3 separate regions of the Homo sapiens genome follow, and regions 1 and 2 are each linked to region 3. Evidence: promoter capture Hi-C in 16 types of primary human blood cells and fetal thymus (Javierre and others, 2016). All regions are on one chromosome and are shown on one strand. Each heading gives the region's core, a stretch centred on a gene start or on the middle of the fragment in contact. The rest is flanking DNA. Distances are from core to core; before and after follow the strand shown.

What was found. Contacts are between HindIII fragments. The CHiCAGO score rates a contact against its expected background, and 5 or more counts as called.
Region 1: a contact is called between a fragment that was not itself captured here and the fragment with the promoter of GDI1 in region 3, in 2 of 17 cell types (monocytes and non-activated CD4 T cells). The highest score is 5.9, in monocytes.
Region 2: a contact is called between a fragment that was not itself captured here and the fragment with the promoter of GDI1 in region 3, in 1 of 17 cell types (monocytes). The highest score is 6.1, in monocytes.

What each region holds. Positions count from the first base shown.
Region 1 is chrX:153,898,906-153,902,378 of GRCh38, reverse strand. No RefSeq gene overlaps it. Among named protein-coding and RNA genes, the nearest start is that of AVPR2, 4.0 kb to the left of the region's middle. The HindIII fragment of the contact is 392 bases long and covers 1,701-2,092 here.
Region 2 is chrX:153,917,592-153,921,054 of GRCh38, reverse strand. It overlaps ARHGAP4 (Rho GTPase activating protein 4), which reads left to right. Exons shown (of 22, transcript NM_001666.5): 5 at 247-429; 6 at 1,772-1,900; 7 at 2,002-2,223. Among named protein-coding and RNA genes, the nearest start is that of ARHGAP4, 6.9 kb to the left of the region's middle. RefSeq lists an enhancer at 1-114. The HindIII fragment of the contact is 4,186 bases long and covers 1-3,463 here.
Region 3 is chrX:154,435,449-154,438,403 of GRCh38, reverse strand. It overlaps GDI1 (GDP dissociation inhibitor 1), which reads right to left and starts at 1,250. Exons shown (of 11, transcript NM_001493.3): 1 at 1,105-1,250. The coding sequence starts at 1,149. It overlaps ATP6AP1 (ATPase H+ transporting accessory protein 1), which reads right to left. Exons shown (of 10, transcript NM_001183.6): 9 at 2,899-2,955; 10 at 1,888-2,722. The coding sequence ends at 2,513. RefSeq lists an enhancer at 1,218-1,718. The HindIII fragment of the contact is 14,364 bases long and covers 1-2,955 here.

The sequences.
Region 1 (3,473 bases), core at 647-3,146, 540 kb after region 3:
CTCCCACTGGTCCCTCTAAGACTTGCAGAAAGGGCTCTGTGAGTGCCAAGGTGTGGCTCCTGATCTTCCAGCCTAGTGTCTGGGCAGAAGAGGACAGGAGGCAGATTGGGGGGACACTGTTTGTCCCTCTCTATCTACCGGTTCCCCATGATCAGAACCTTCCATTCACCAAACTGCAAGTGCCGCTGGCCTAGCACTGTGGCTGCAGAGATGGAAGGACCTGGGCTCTGCCCCAGGAGCACATGGGCTTCTGCAGAGAAGAGTGGAGGCAGGGAGGCTGGTGGAAGCTGTGCCTGTCACCCAGGAGAGAAATGGTGCGACCCACTTAACACTGGGCAGCGGGGCTAGAGGGAGCAGGCAGGTGGAAAAGGCATTTAAAGGGCCCTGAAGGATTTGTAAGGGGTGGAAGACAAAGAGGAGGCAGCCAAGGACGAGGAGAAAGAGGCCCCCGATTGTGTGGGAGGGGTGCATGTGCAGATGGTGGAGCCTGTGGGCAGTGGGAAGGACGGAGCCAAGTGCCTGTCAACAGGAACGGCCCTCACAGGGACTGTGACCCGAAGGAGAATACCTAGAGCCCAGGAGATAGGGAGGAACAACGGGTTGGAGGATGGGATTGAAGGGGACAAAAACAAATTTAATAAAAACTCAAGTGTACTTGTGTGAATGTGAGGGTGTGTGTGAGGGTGTGCGTGTGTGAGGGTGTGAGAGTGTGTGAGGGTGTGTGTGAGAGTGTGCGTATGTGAGGGTGGGCGTGTGTGTGGGGTGTGTGTGGTGTGTGGTGTGTGAGGGTGTGCATGTGAGGGTGTGTGGTGTGTGTGTGGCGTGGGTGGTTGTGTGTGAGGGTGTGTGGTGTGTGTGTGTGTGGCGTTGGGGGGGTTGTGTGTGAGGGTGTGCGCGTGTGTGAGGGTGTGTGCGTGTGTGAGGGTGTGTGCGTGTGTGAGGGTGTGTGCGTGTGCCAATGATGACAGGAAGACAGCCTGCGGATGATCATCTAATTGTGTCCATTCACCTAAGTGAATAATAACTGGGAAAGCTGGACAGAGCCTGTTTATAGCTGCGGAAAGGCAGCCCATGGAACTGGATAGATTAAGAGCCTCGCGGAGTGGAAGGGAGGGCCAGGGTCTCCAGCAGGTGCTGGGGTGAGGGGCGGGGGGTAGAAGGAGGGTGAGCGTTGAGGGCTTGAGGGCCGTACCCATAGATGGCCTCCAGGTCATCATGTGAGAGTCAGGCAGGAGGCGGCTCCCTGGCAAAACTGCAGAGATTTTTTTTTTTTTTCTTTTTTAAAGGCAGTGGCCCCTCCCGCTTTCCTCCCCAGAGGCGGCCGACTGCAGTTGCTGTTAGTGGGCTGTTTGGGTAACTGCCTCGGGGTTTCCCAGTCTGACTTCCTCTTGCTCTCTCTGCCTGCACGTTCCTCCCCCAGATTATTGCAGCAGCTGCTCCGGGTGTCTTCAGTGCTCATGCACTCACCACCCTGGAATGGCCCTCCGCAGGCAATGATTTCTCTCCTCCAGAATGACTTTTTTTTTTTTCGGCTTTATTGAGGTATGATTAGCATACAGTAAAATTCATTAATTGTAATTGTACTGTTCAGTAAGATTTGACAAATGTATACAGTCGTGTAACCACAACCACAATCATGACATAGAATAAATATTTTCGACATTCCAGAAAGTTCCCTCGTGGCCTTTTGCAGTCAAGCTTCTTCCCCTACCTGAAAGCCTAGCAACCACTGATCTATCACTATAGATTTTCCTTTTCTAGAATTTTATATAAATAGAATCATAGAGTATGTAGTATTTTCAAAAATTAGCCGGGCGTGGTGGCGCAAGCCTGTAATCCCAGCTACTCAGAGGCTGAGGCTGGAGAATCGCTTGAACCCGGGAGGCGGAGGTTTCAGTGAGCCGAGATCTTGCCATTGCACTCCAGCCTGGGTGACACAGCAAGACTCCGTCTCAAAAAAAAATAATAATAAAAATAAATAAATAAATAAAAGAGTACATAGTATTTTGTGTAACTTCTTTTTTTTTTTTATATTTTTTTTGGTGGGGAGGAGGCATAGTCTCTCACTCTGTCACCCGGTATACTGAAAGCTTTTATCACAAGTGAGTATTGAATTTTTTTCTTTTTTTTCTTTTTTTTTTTGAGTCGGAGTTTCACTCTTGTTGCCCAGGCTGCAGTGCAATGGCGAGATCTTGGCTCACTGCAACCTTCGCCTCCCAGGTTCAAGAGATTCTCTTGCCTCAGCCTCCCAAGTAGCTGGGATTACAGGCAAGCGCCACCATGCCCAGCTAATTTTGTACTTTTAGTAGAGACGGGGTTTCTTCATGTTGGTCAGGCTGGTCTCGAATTCCCGACCTCAGGTGATCCACCTGCCTCGGCCTCCCAAAGTGCTGGGATTACAGGCATGAGCCACCACACCCGGCCAATTTTTGTGTTTTTAGTAGAGACAGGGTTTCATCATGTTAACCAGGATGGTCTCGATCTCTTGACCTCTGATCCACCCACCTTGGCCTCCCAAAGTGCTGGGATGACAGGTGTGAGCCACTGTGCCTGGCTGTTGTTTACCATTTTTACATCTGTATTAATGAGAGATGCTGGTCTACGTTTTCCCTTTCTGTAATATCTTTGGTTTGGGGATGAGTATAATGCTGACTTTATAAAACGAGTTGGGAAGTGTTCTCTCTTTTTCTGTTTTCTGGAAGAGTTAGTATAGAATTGGTATTATTTACACAAACCTGGAGTTTTCTTTGTGAGAATTTTTTCAGTTATAAATTCAACTCTTCTGACAGATACAGGGCTAATCAGGTTATCTATTTTTTCCTAAATGAGCGTTGACCATTTGTATCTTTCAAGGAATTTGTCCATTTCATCTAAGTTGTTGGATGTATTGGAATAAGTTTTTCACAACATCCTCTTATCACTTTTTTATGTTTGTAGGATCTGTAATAATGCCCCCTCTCTCTTATTCTCCATATTGGTAATTTGTATCTTCTCTCCATTTTTTTTTTCTGATCAGTCTGGCTAGAGGCTTATCAATTTCATTGATCTTTTTGTTTTGTTTTGTTTTGAAACGAAGTTTTGCTCTTGTTGCCCAGGCTGGAGTGCAGTGGTGTGATCTTGGCTCACTGCAACTTCTGCCTCCCAGATTCAAGCAATTCTTCTGCCTCAGCCTCCTGAGTAGCTGGGATTACAGGTGCACACCACCACGCCCAGCTAATTTTTGTATTTTTTAGTAGAGATGGGGTTTCACCATGTTGGTCAGGATCATCTCGATCTCTTGACCTCATGATCTGCCTGCCTCGGCCTCCCAAAGTGCTGGGATTACAGGTGTGAGCCACCGTGACCGGCTCTAGTTTCTTAAAGTAGAAATTTAAATAATTATTTTGGGACCTTTCTGCTTTTCTAATATAAGTAGTTCCTTTTCCTCTAATCAGTTGTTTTGTTGAATTCCCAAATTTTCATATTTTATTTGC
Region 2 (3,463 bases), core at 290-2,789, 520 kb after region 3:
GAGAAATGCCACTCACAGTGGGGGAGGAACACCGCCAGACCATCACATCACCCCAAGCCAGGCTCAGGGAGAAGCACGCACCTAGGGGCAAAGGCCTCTCTCCCTAGGCACAGGGCGTTAGGCTAAGTGCTCACATGGGATCGCCCAGCTCTGAGGTCCAAGTTCCAGAGGGGCAGGGGTAGAGGGCTGGGGGCTGGCCCAGCCGTGGCCTTCACCAGCACCACCTTGCTTTGGGTCTCCCTGCAGGCCAAGAAGACGTACCAGGCATATCACATGGAGAGCGTGAATGCCGAGGCCAAGCTCCGGGAGGCCGAGCGGCAGGAGGAGAAGCGGGCAGGCCGGAGTGTCCCCACCACCACCGCTGGTGCCACTGAGGCAGGGCCCCTCCGCAAGAGCTCCCTCAAGAAGGGAGGGAGGCTGGTGGAGAAGGTGGGCCTGGAGGGCACCTCAGACGCAGGCCTATGGGCCATGGGCCCTAACTAGGACCTGCTGTGCTGAGGGGGAAGTCAGGGCTGGGTGCAGGGGAGGGCAGGAGTGGCAGGACAGTGCCATCAGGTTCCAGGGATTCCATACGGAAGGCTCCCAGGGCCTGAGAGAGTGGGGAAAACAGTTGCCTGGCCCTGGACAGCCCCATGCAGCCTCTCCATGCTCCCAGCGGGGCCCCTGCAGCTCTGCTGTTCTGCCAGCCATTCCGTAAGGTTTCAGAGGGGGGCAAGAAGACACTTAGGGTGGGTGATGGGGTGACACGCACGGAGAAAGGGCCTTCGAGGTGAGCCCAGTACAGAGAGTGGGGAGGCTGGGAAATGCCTGGATGGAGCCGCCAGGCTGTGCGTGGCTGACAGTCATGGTCTCTGGGACTCTGGGAGCAGAGGAGGGAGTCGAGCATCTCAGGTGTTCTTAGGGGAAATGACAGAGTTTGGCTGTGTTGGGGGAAGGTCTCCCTGGCTGCTGTGGTTAGCGTGCCAGCTTTAGCCAGGTGCGGTGACTCACGCCTGTAATCCTAGCATTTTGGGAGGCTGAGGTGGGTGGATCACGAAGTCAGGAGTTCAAGATCAGTGTGGCCAACATGGTGAAACCCCATCTCTACTAAAAATACAAAAATTAGCCGGGCATGATGGCGGGTGCCTGTCATCCCAGCTACTTGGGAGGCTGAGGCGGGAGAATCACTTGAACACAGCAGGCGGAGGTTGCAGTGATCTAAGATTGCACCACTGTACTCCAGCCTGGGCGACAGAGCGAGACTCTGTCTCAAAAAAAAAAAATAAAAAAAAAATAGAGTGCCAGTTTTAGAACCCAGGTGCCAGCAGGTTCTGTTTCATGGCTCTTGATGATCTATCCCTACCCTTTGGGGTACTCGTTCCCCCTCAGCTCTGGCCCCCGCAGAGGCCTGTGGCCGCTTCCAGCTGTGCACCTGTGTGCTGGCTCCAAGCTGGGTTTCTCGTGCACCCTCCATGGTGGGGTGCCATGTGCGCACCTTCCACTCATCAGGTATCTGTGAATAGTTCTGTGTCATCCCCCACTTCTGTGGGGAATGTTGTGGCTCGAACCAAGGCAAGTGGCGGGTGAACAGCCGGGGAATCAAGTCACCTCCTGGCACTGGGCTGAGCACACTGTGGACTGTGGCGTGGGGAAGGCAGCAGGACTTCTGGGCTTGACCAGTTCAGGTGTAGTTGTCCACAGTGGGAGGGGAGGCGATGGGCATTACATGAAAGGCTAGAGATAGGGGCTGGCCACGTGCGTGACCCTGGCACGCTTGCATTGTCTTGAGTAGCGGCAGGCCAAGTTCATGGAGCACAAACTCAAGTGCACAAAGGCGCGCAACGAGTACCTGCTTAGCCTGGCTAGTGTCAACGCTGCTGTCAGTAACTACTACCTGCATGACGTCTTGGACCTCATGGACGTGAGTCCTTGGTGGGCAGGTGGGAAAAGGTGCCTGGTGCCTCGGGGCTGGGAAGCTGTGGCTCCAGGACCTACCCAAGCATCTCCTTGTTTCCTCCTCAGTGCTGTGACACAGGGTTCCACCTGGCCCTGGGGCAGGTGCTCCGGAGCTACACGGCCGCTGAGAGCCGCACCCAAGCCTCCCAAGTGCAGGGCCTGGGCAGCCTGGAAGAAGCTGTGGAGGCCCTGGATCCTCCAGGGGACAAAGCCAAGGTTCTCGAGGTGCATGCTACCGTCTTCTGTCCCCCGCTGCGCTTTGACTACCACCCCCATGATGGGGATGAGGTGAGGGTCACCCCCTGCTGGGCTTGGCATTCTCTGGCCTTCACTGTAATGGTGGGCAGTGGAGTGGCATGACCCACACTTTGCTCAGGAATCCAAGTTCTCCATGGTCTCAGGCAGTGCGGCAGCTAGAGAAGTGTCCCACTTCCATTTGCAGCCTCACTCCAAGGGTGCACCCCCGCAATGGCCAAGGAGGGCAAGACACTAACTGTTCAAACCGTGCAGCAGGCAGCCGTGTAGCTGCCCATACATTGTTCTAGGCTGGTTTCTCTGTGTTTTTAAATTTCGTGACACAAACTTGGCAGTAAGATGGAATGGGGCTTCTTTATCCTTCTCCGTCGAGCTAGTTTTTCCTGCAGCAGTTTATCCTGATGGGCATTGTCAATGATCTGGGATTACATTGGGCCCCTTTCGGGCCGACTTGGAACTTTACGAAGAGTCCGGCATCACCAGGGCTTCCGATGGCGTCACAGCTGCTCCCTAACCCACCCCTCCCGTTCCCAGCTCCCACCCCCAGAAACAGCCACCCACCTCCCGGTGTCAAGCAGCCATTTTCCATTGGCCAATGATGACCCAGTGCCACCAGCATCTCTCACAGCCACCACACGCTTCCCTGCATCTTGTTCTCCCAGTGGGCTTATCCCAGAATTTTTGGCTAAATTAACATTCAATGTTTAAATCACCATGACAACAGGTACTGTTGGCAGCTGAGCCATGTACTGTATTAGGATCACATGTCCTTCCTTGGACAATTTTTCCTTTTCTTCTGGAATTTATAACTCTCTTGCCTCAGGAATGCTGCTTGCTAGAACATGCCCATTGCTAGGAGTTGATCGCTACCTCGTCCCAGCACTGTCCTCCACACCAGGCACCTGTGAGGTCAACCTTCTCCTCTGCGCCCTCCCCCAGAGCCTTCCAGTCTGGAGTGCTTCACTTCTGCCCAGTGCTCTGTTTCCGGATTCCACGGCAGCAGCTTTCTTAGTTTGATACCCTTATTTTGGTGACACCTTCACCAAGGGTTTCCTGACTTTGCACATCTGAAAATGTCTGTATTCTTTGTTTTGTTTTGTTGTGTTTTGTTTTTGAAACAGGGTCTCACTCTGTCCCCTCGGCTGGAGTGCAGGGGTGTGATGTGATCTCAGCTCACTGCAGATGCAACCTTCTGGTCCTCCCATCTCAGCTTCCCAAGTAGCTGGGACTACAGGCCTGCACTACAACGCCAGGCTAATTTTTCTATATTTTG
Region 3 (2,955 bases), core at 1-2,500:
CTGGCTAGTTGCCTCGCCTAAAATTGGGGTGATGGCTTCATCCGACCACACTCTCCATTGCAACCTTGCTGGGCAAAGGAGTCCCGTCCCCCTCACAAGGCGGAGAGTGAAATAACGGAGGCTTTGAGGGAGGCAGGGCATCCAGCAGACACAGGATGGCCTTCCAGTACCAACACGCCGAGAGGCATCTACCTACGCAGAGCCGCACAAAAAGGCGGATAAAACACAATAAGGCACAGAGAAGACCCAGCTGGACTGCAAAGGACACTCGAAAGGGAGGAAAAGAAAGGCTTAGCACAGTCCTTGAAATTGTAGGCCCCACCCTGGACTGCTCTTTCTTCAAATAGCAGGAGCCCCTGCCGCTGAGGAGGGGCATCTGGGCCTGGACCGAGGAAGAAGAGTCTCTGAGGGGAGTAGGCCAACGGGGTTTTCGGGGAAAGGGGGAAGATAAACACCCTCACCAGTCACTGTCACTAGCCCAAGGACAAAGGCTGCAGATGCTACCCAGCCTGAGGTCTCCATGGGCAACCGAGGTGGGGTTGCGGGAATGTGCTTACTGCCCCCACTGCTGTTCCTTCTGGAACATTCCCTGGATCCCCTGGCCCCAGAAGACGATGAGGAGGCGGGCTGAGGGCCCACTCTGGCGAGGCCCCCTGACCCCAGGTCCTTCTACTTCATCCCCACCGGGATTAGCGCAAGATGGGAACGGACGCTGAGAGGCAACGCTAGGCGGGCAATGGGTGCGGGCGACGGGTGGATGCCGTGATGGGTGGGGGCGATGGGTGGGCGGGGTCGTGGGCATCGGGCCGAGTGGGGGTGCGTTTTCCGGTCCAGCGGGCAGGGGTAGGGAAGATGGGAGGGCGCCGGGGGTCGGACCCGGGTAGCCCAGGAGGCGGCCAGGAAGGGGGCCTCTTCGGGGAGATGGGGTCATGGCAACGAGCAGAGGCGACGTCGCTGGGGGAGCAGCGGGGTGGGCACGGCGCCGGCTTTTCGGGGAGCGGAGCGCAGAAGATGGCAGTGACCAGAGGATGGGCCGGCGGCCGCATCATCGCGGGGGATGGCGAGGGCACGACGCAGGGCCAGGGGCGCCGGGGCCGCACTTACGGTGAGACCGGTCCCCAGCACGATCACATCGTATTCCTCGTCCATGGTCAGGCCTCGGTGCCAGCGCCCGCTCGGCTCCTCCTCCTCCTTCACCGCAGCAGTCGCCGCCGCCACCGCCGCCGCCGCCACCGCACTGGACCAAAGATGGCGGCGCGTCGGCCGTCGCCCGACCCCTCCGCCGCGTCAAAGAGTCCCGCCTCTTCCCGCGCCCCGCCGCAACCGGCAGGGGCCACCGCCTCCCCGGCTCGCCTCCCGGGAGGGCTGCCAGGGCCCGGGCCACAGCACCAGCGCGGCTCCGCGGGCGACGCTGCTCGCCGAGAGTCTAGAGAGGCGCGGGGCGGGGCGGGCGGGGCGGGCCGGCGGCCGGTGCTGCGGCCCAGGAAGAATCCGTGCGCGGGAGCCGCGCGCGCCCCGCCCCACCCGCCGCGCCCCGCCCCGCCCCGCCCCGCGCGCGCCCGCCCACCTCCCCACCCCCGCCCACCCCCCCGGGAGTCTCGGCGCGGCCCCGCGGCCGGGCGCGCGCCGCTGCGGCAGCCTGGGGCGGCCCCCTCACGACGCGAAGGCTGCCATTGTCACGACGGCCTCCTGAGACGCCGAAGCGCACCGGGACTCGGCCCGACCGCCCCTCCCTACCCTGAGCGGTTAGGGCCCAGCTTGCTAAAGCCCCTCCCGGTCTCCGCGGATGCCTCTTCGCCTCCCCCTCGCCAGGCTCCATCCTCCCGCATCCCTCCGGCGAGCACGCGCCTAAAGCCCAGCGCAGAAATGAGCGACAAGAGGCCCAACGCATGGCGACCCGCGTTTATTTTATTAGGAAGGAAACAACCAAGCACCCCATGCTCCTGCCCGGCACTCCCGGTGGGAACATGCCAAACAGCCGGCGATCGCACCCAGCCCACCTGTCGTGGAGGTCCCTTCCTTCTCAGGCCACAGAAATAAACCCGTGTACTTCTTATTGTTAGCACAACATCACCAGAAAACGATAACGACAGCCAAGCAGGACAGACAGTTAAGTAGTACTTCCACACTCCCAAACTCAGGGAGCCCTATAACCTTAAGGAGGGAGCATTTGCTACACAAAAGCACTATCCACAGCCAGGGATGATGTAGCCACAAGAATAAATAAGGAGAAAGGAGACCCTAGAATTCATGTCCCTTACGCCTCACAGCGACGAACCCTGGGAAGCTGGTTGGTCTAGCATCTACGCAGAATATGTACACCTTGTTGGGAGAGATGGGGGCAGCCCAAGAAAGCTCCTCAGCGGGCTGAAGAGGGAGCAAGATGGGCTGAGGGGAGCTTGCAGTTCATGCTGCAGTAGGAAGAGGGAAGCTCTTCAGTCCAGTGCGCTGCAGGGTGGGAAAGCAACAACACGGACACCGTCCCACCCTCAACCCCCCCACTGGCACAGGGTCACACAATCTGGGTCAAAGAAATAGTGGGGCCCTTGTGGTCATCAAAGCGATCCATGGTCTTGAGGCTGAGGATCATGTGCAGGCCATAGGTGAAGATGAAGAGCATGAACAGGGAGGTGAGCAGCCCCATCCAGATGCCGGGGGAGAAGAAGCTGGCACAGTCGCTGGCGTAGGAGAACTGCTCCCCCATTACGTTGAAAGCCTGGATCTGGCAGACACACAGACACGGGTCAGAAAGGACCGTTGGGAGGCCCAGCAAGAACTGGGACAGGGGCAGCGCAGGGACAGGACTCTCAACTACATGCCCAAGCCCAAGCCTCTCTTCGTCTCTCAACCACTAGCCTGGGCTCCCCCACCTGAAGCTGGGCCACGCCCGCTCCATACCTGGAAGTCCTGAAGCATCATCTGCCAGGGAGAGGGCTGCGTGCGGGCCACGAGGAG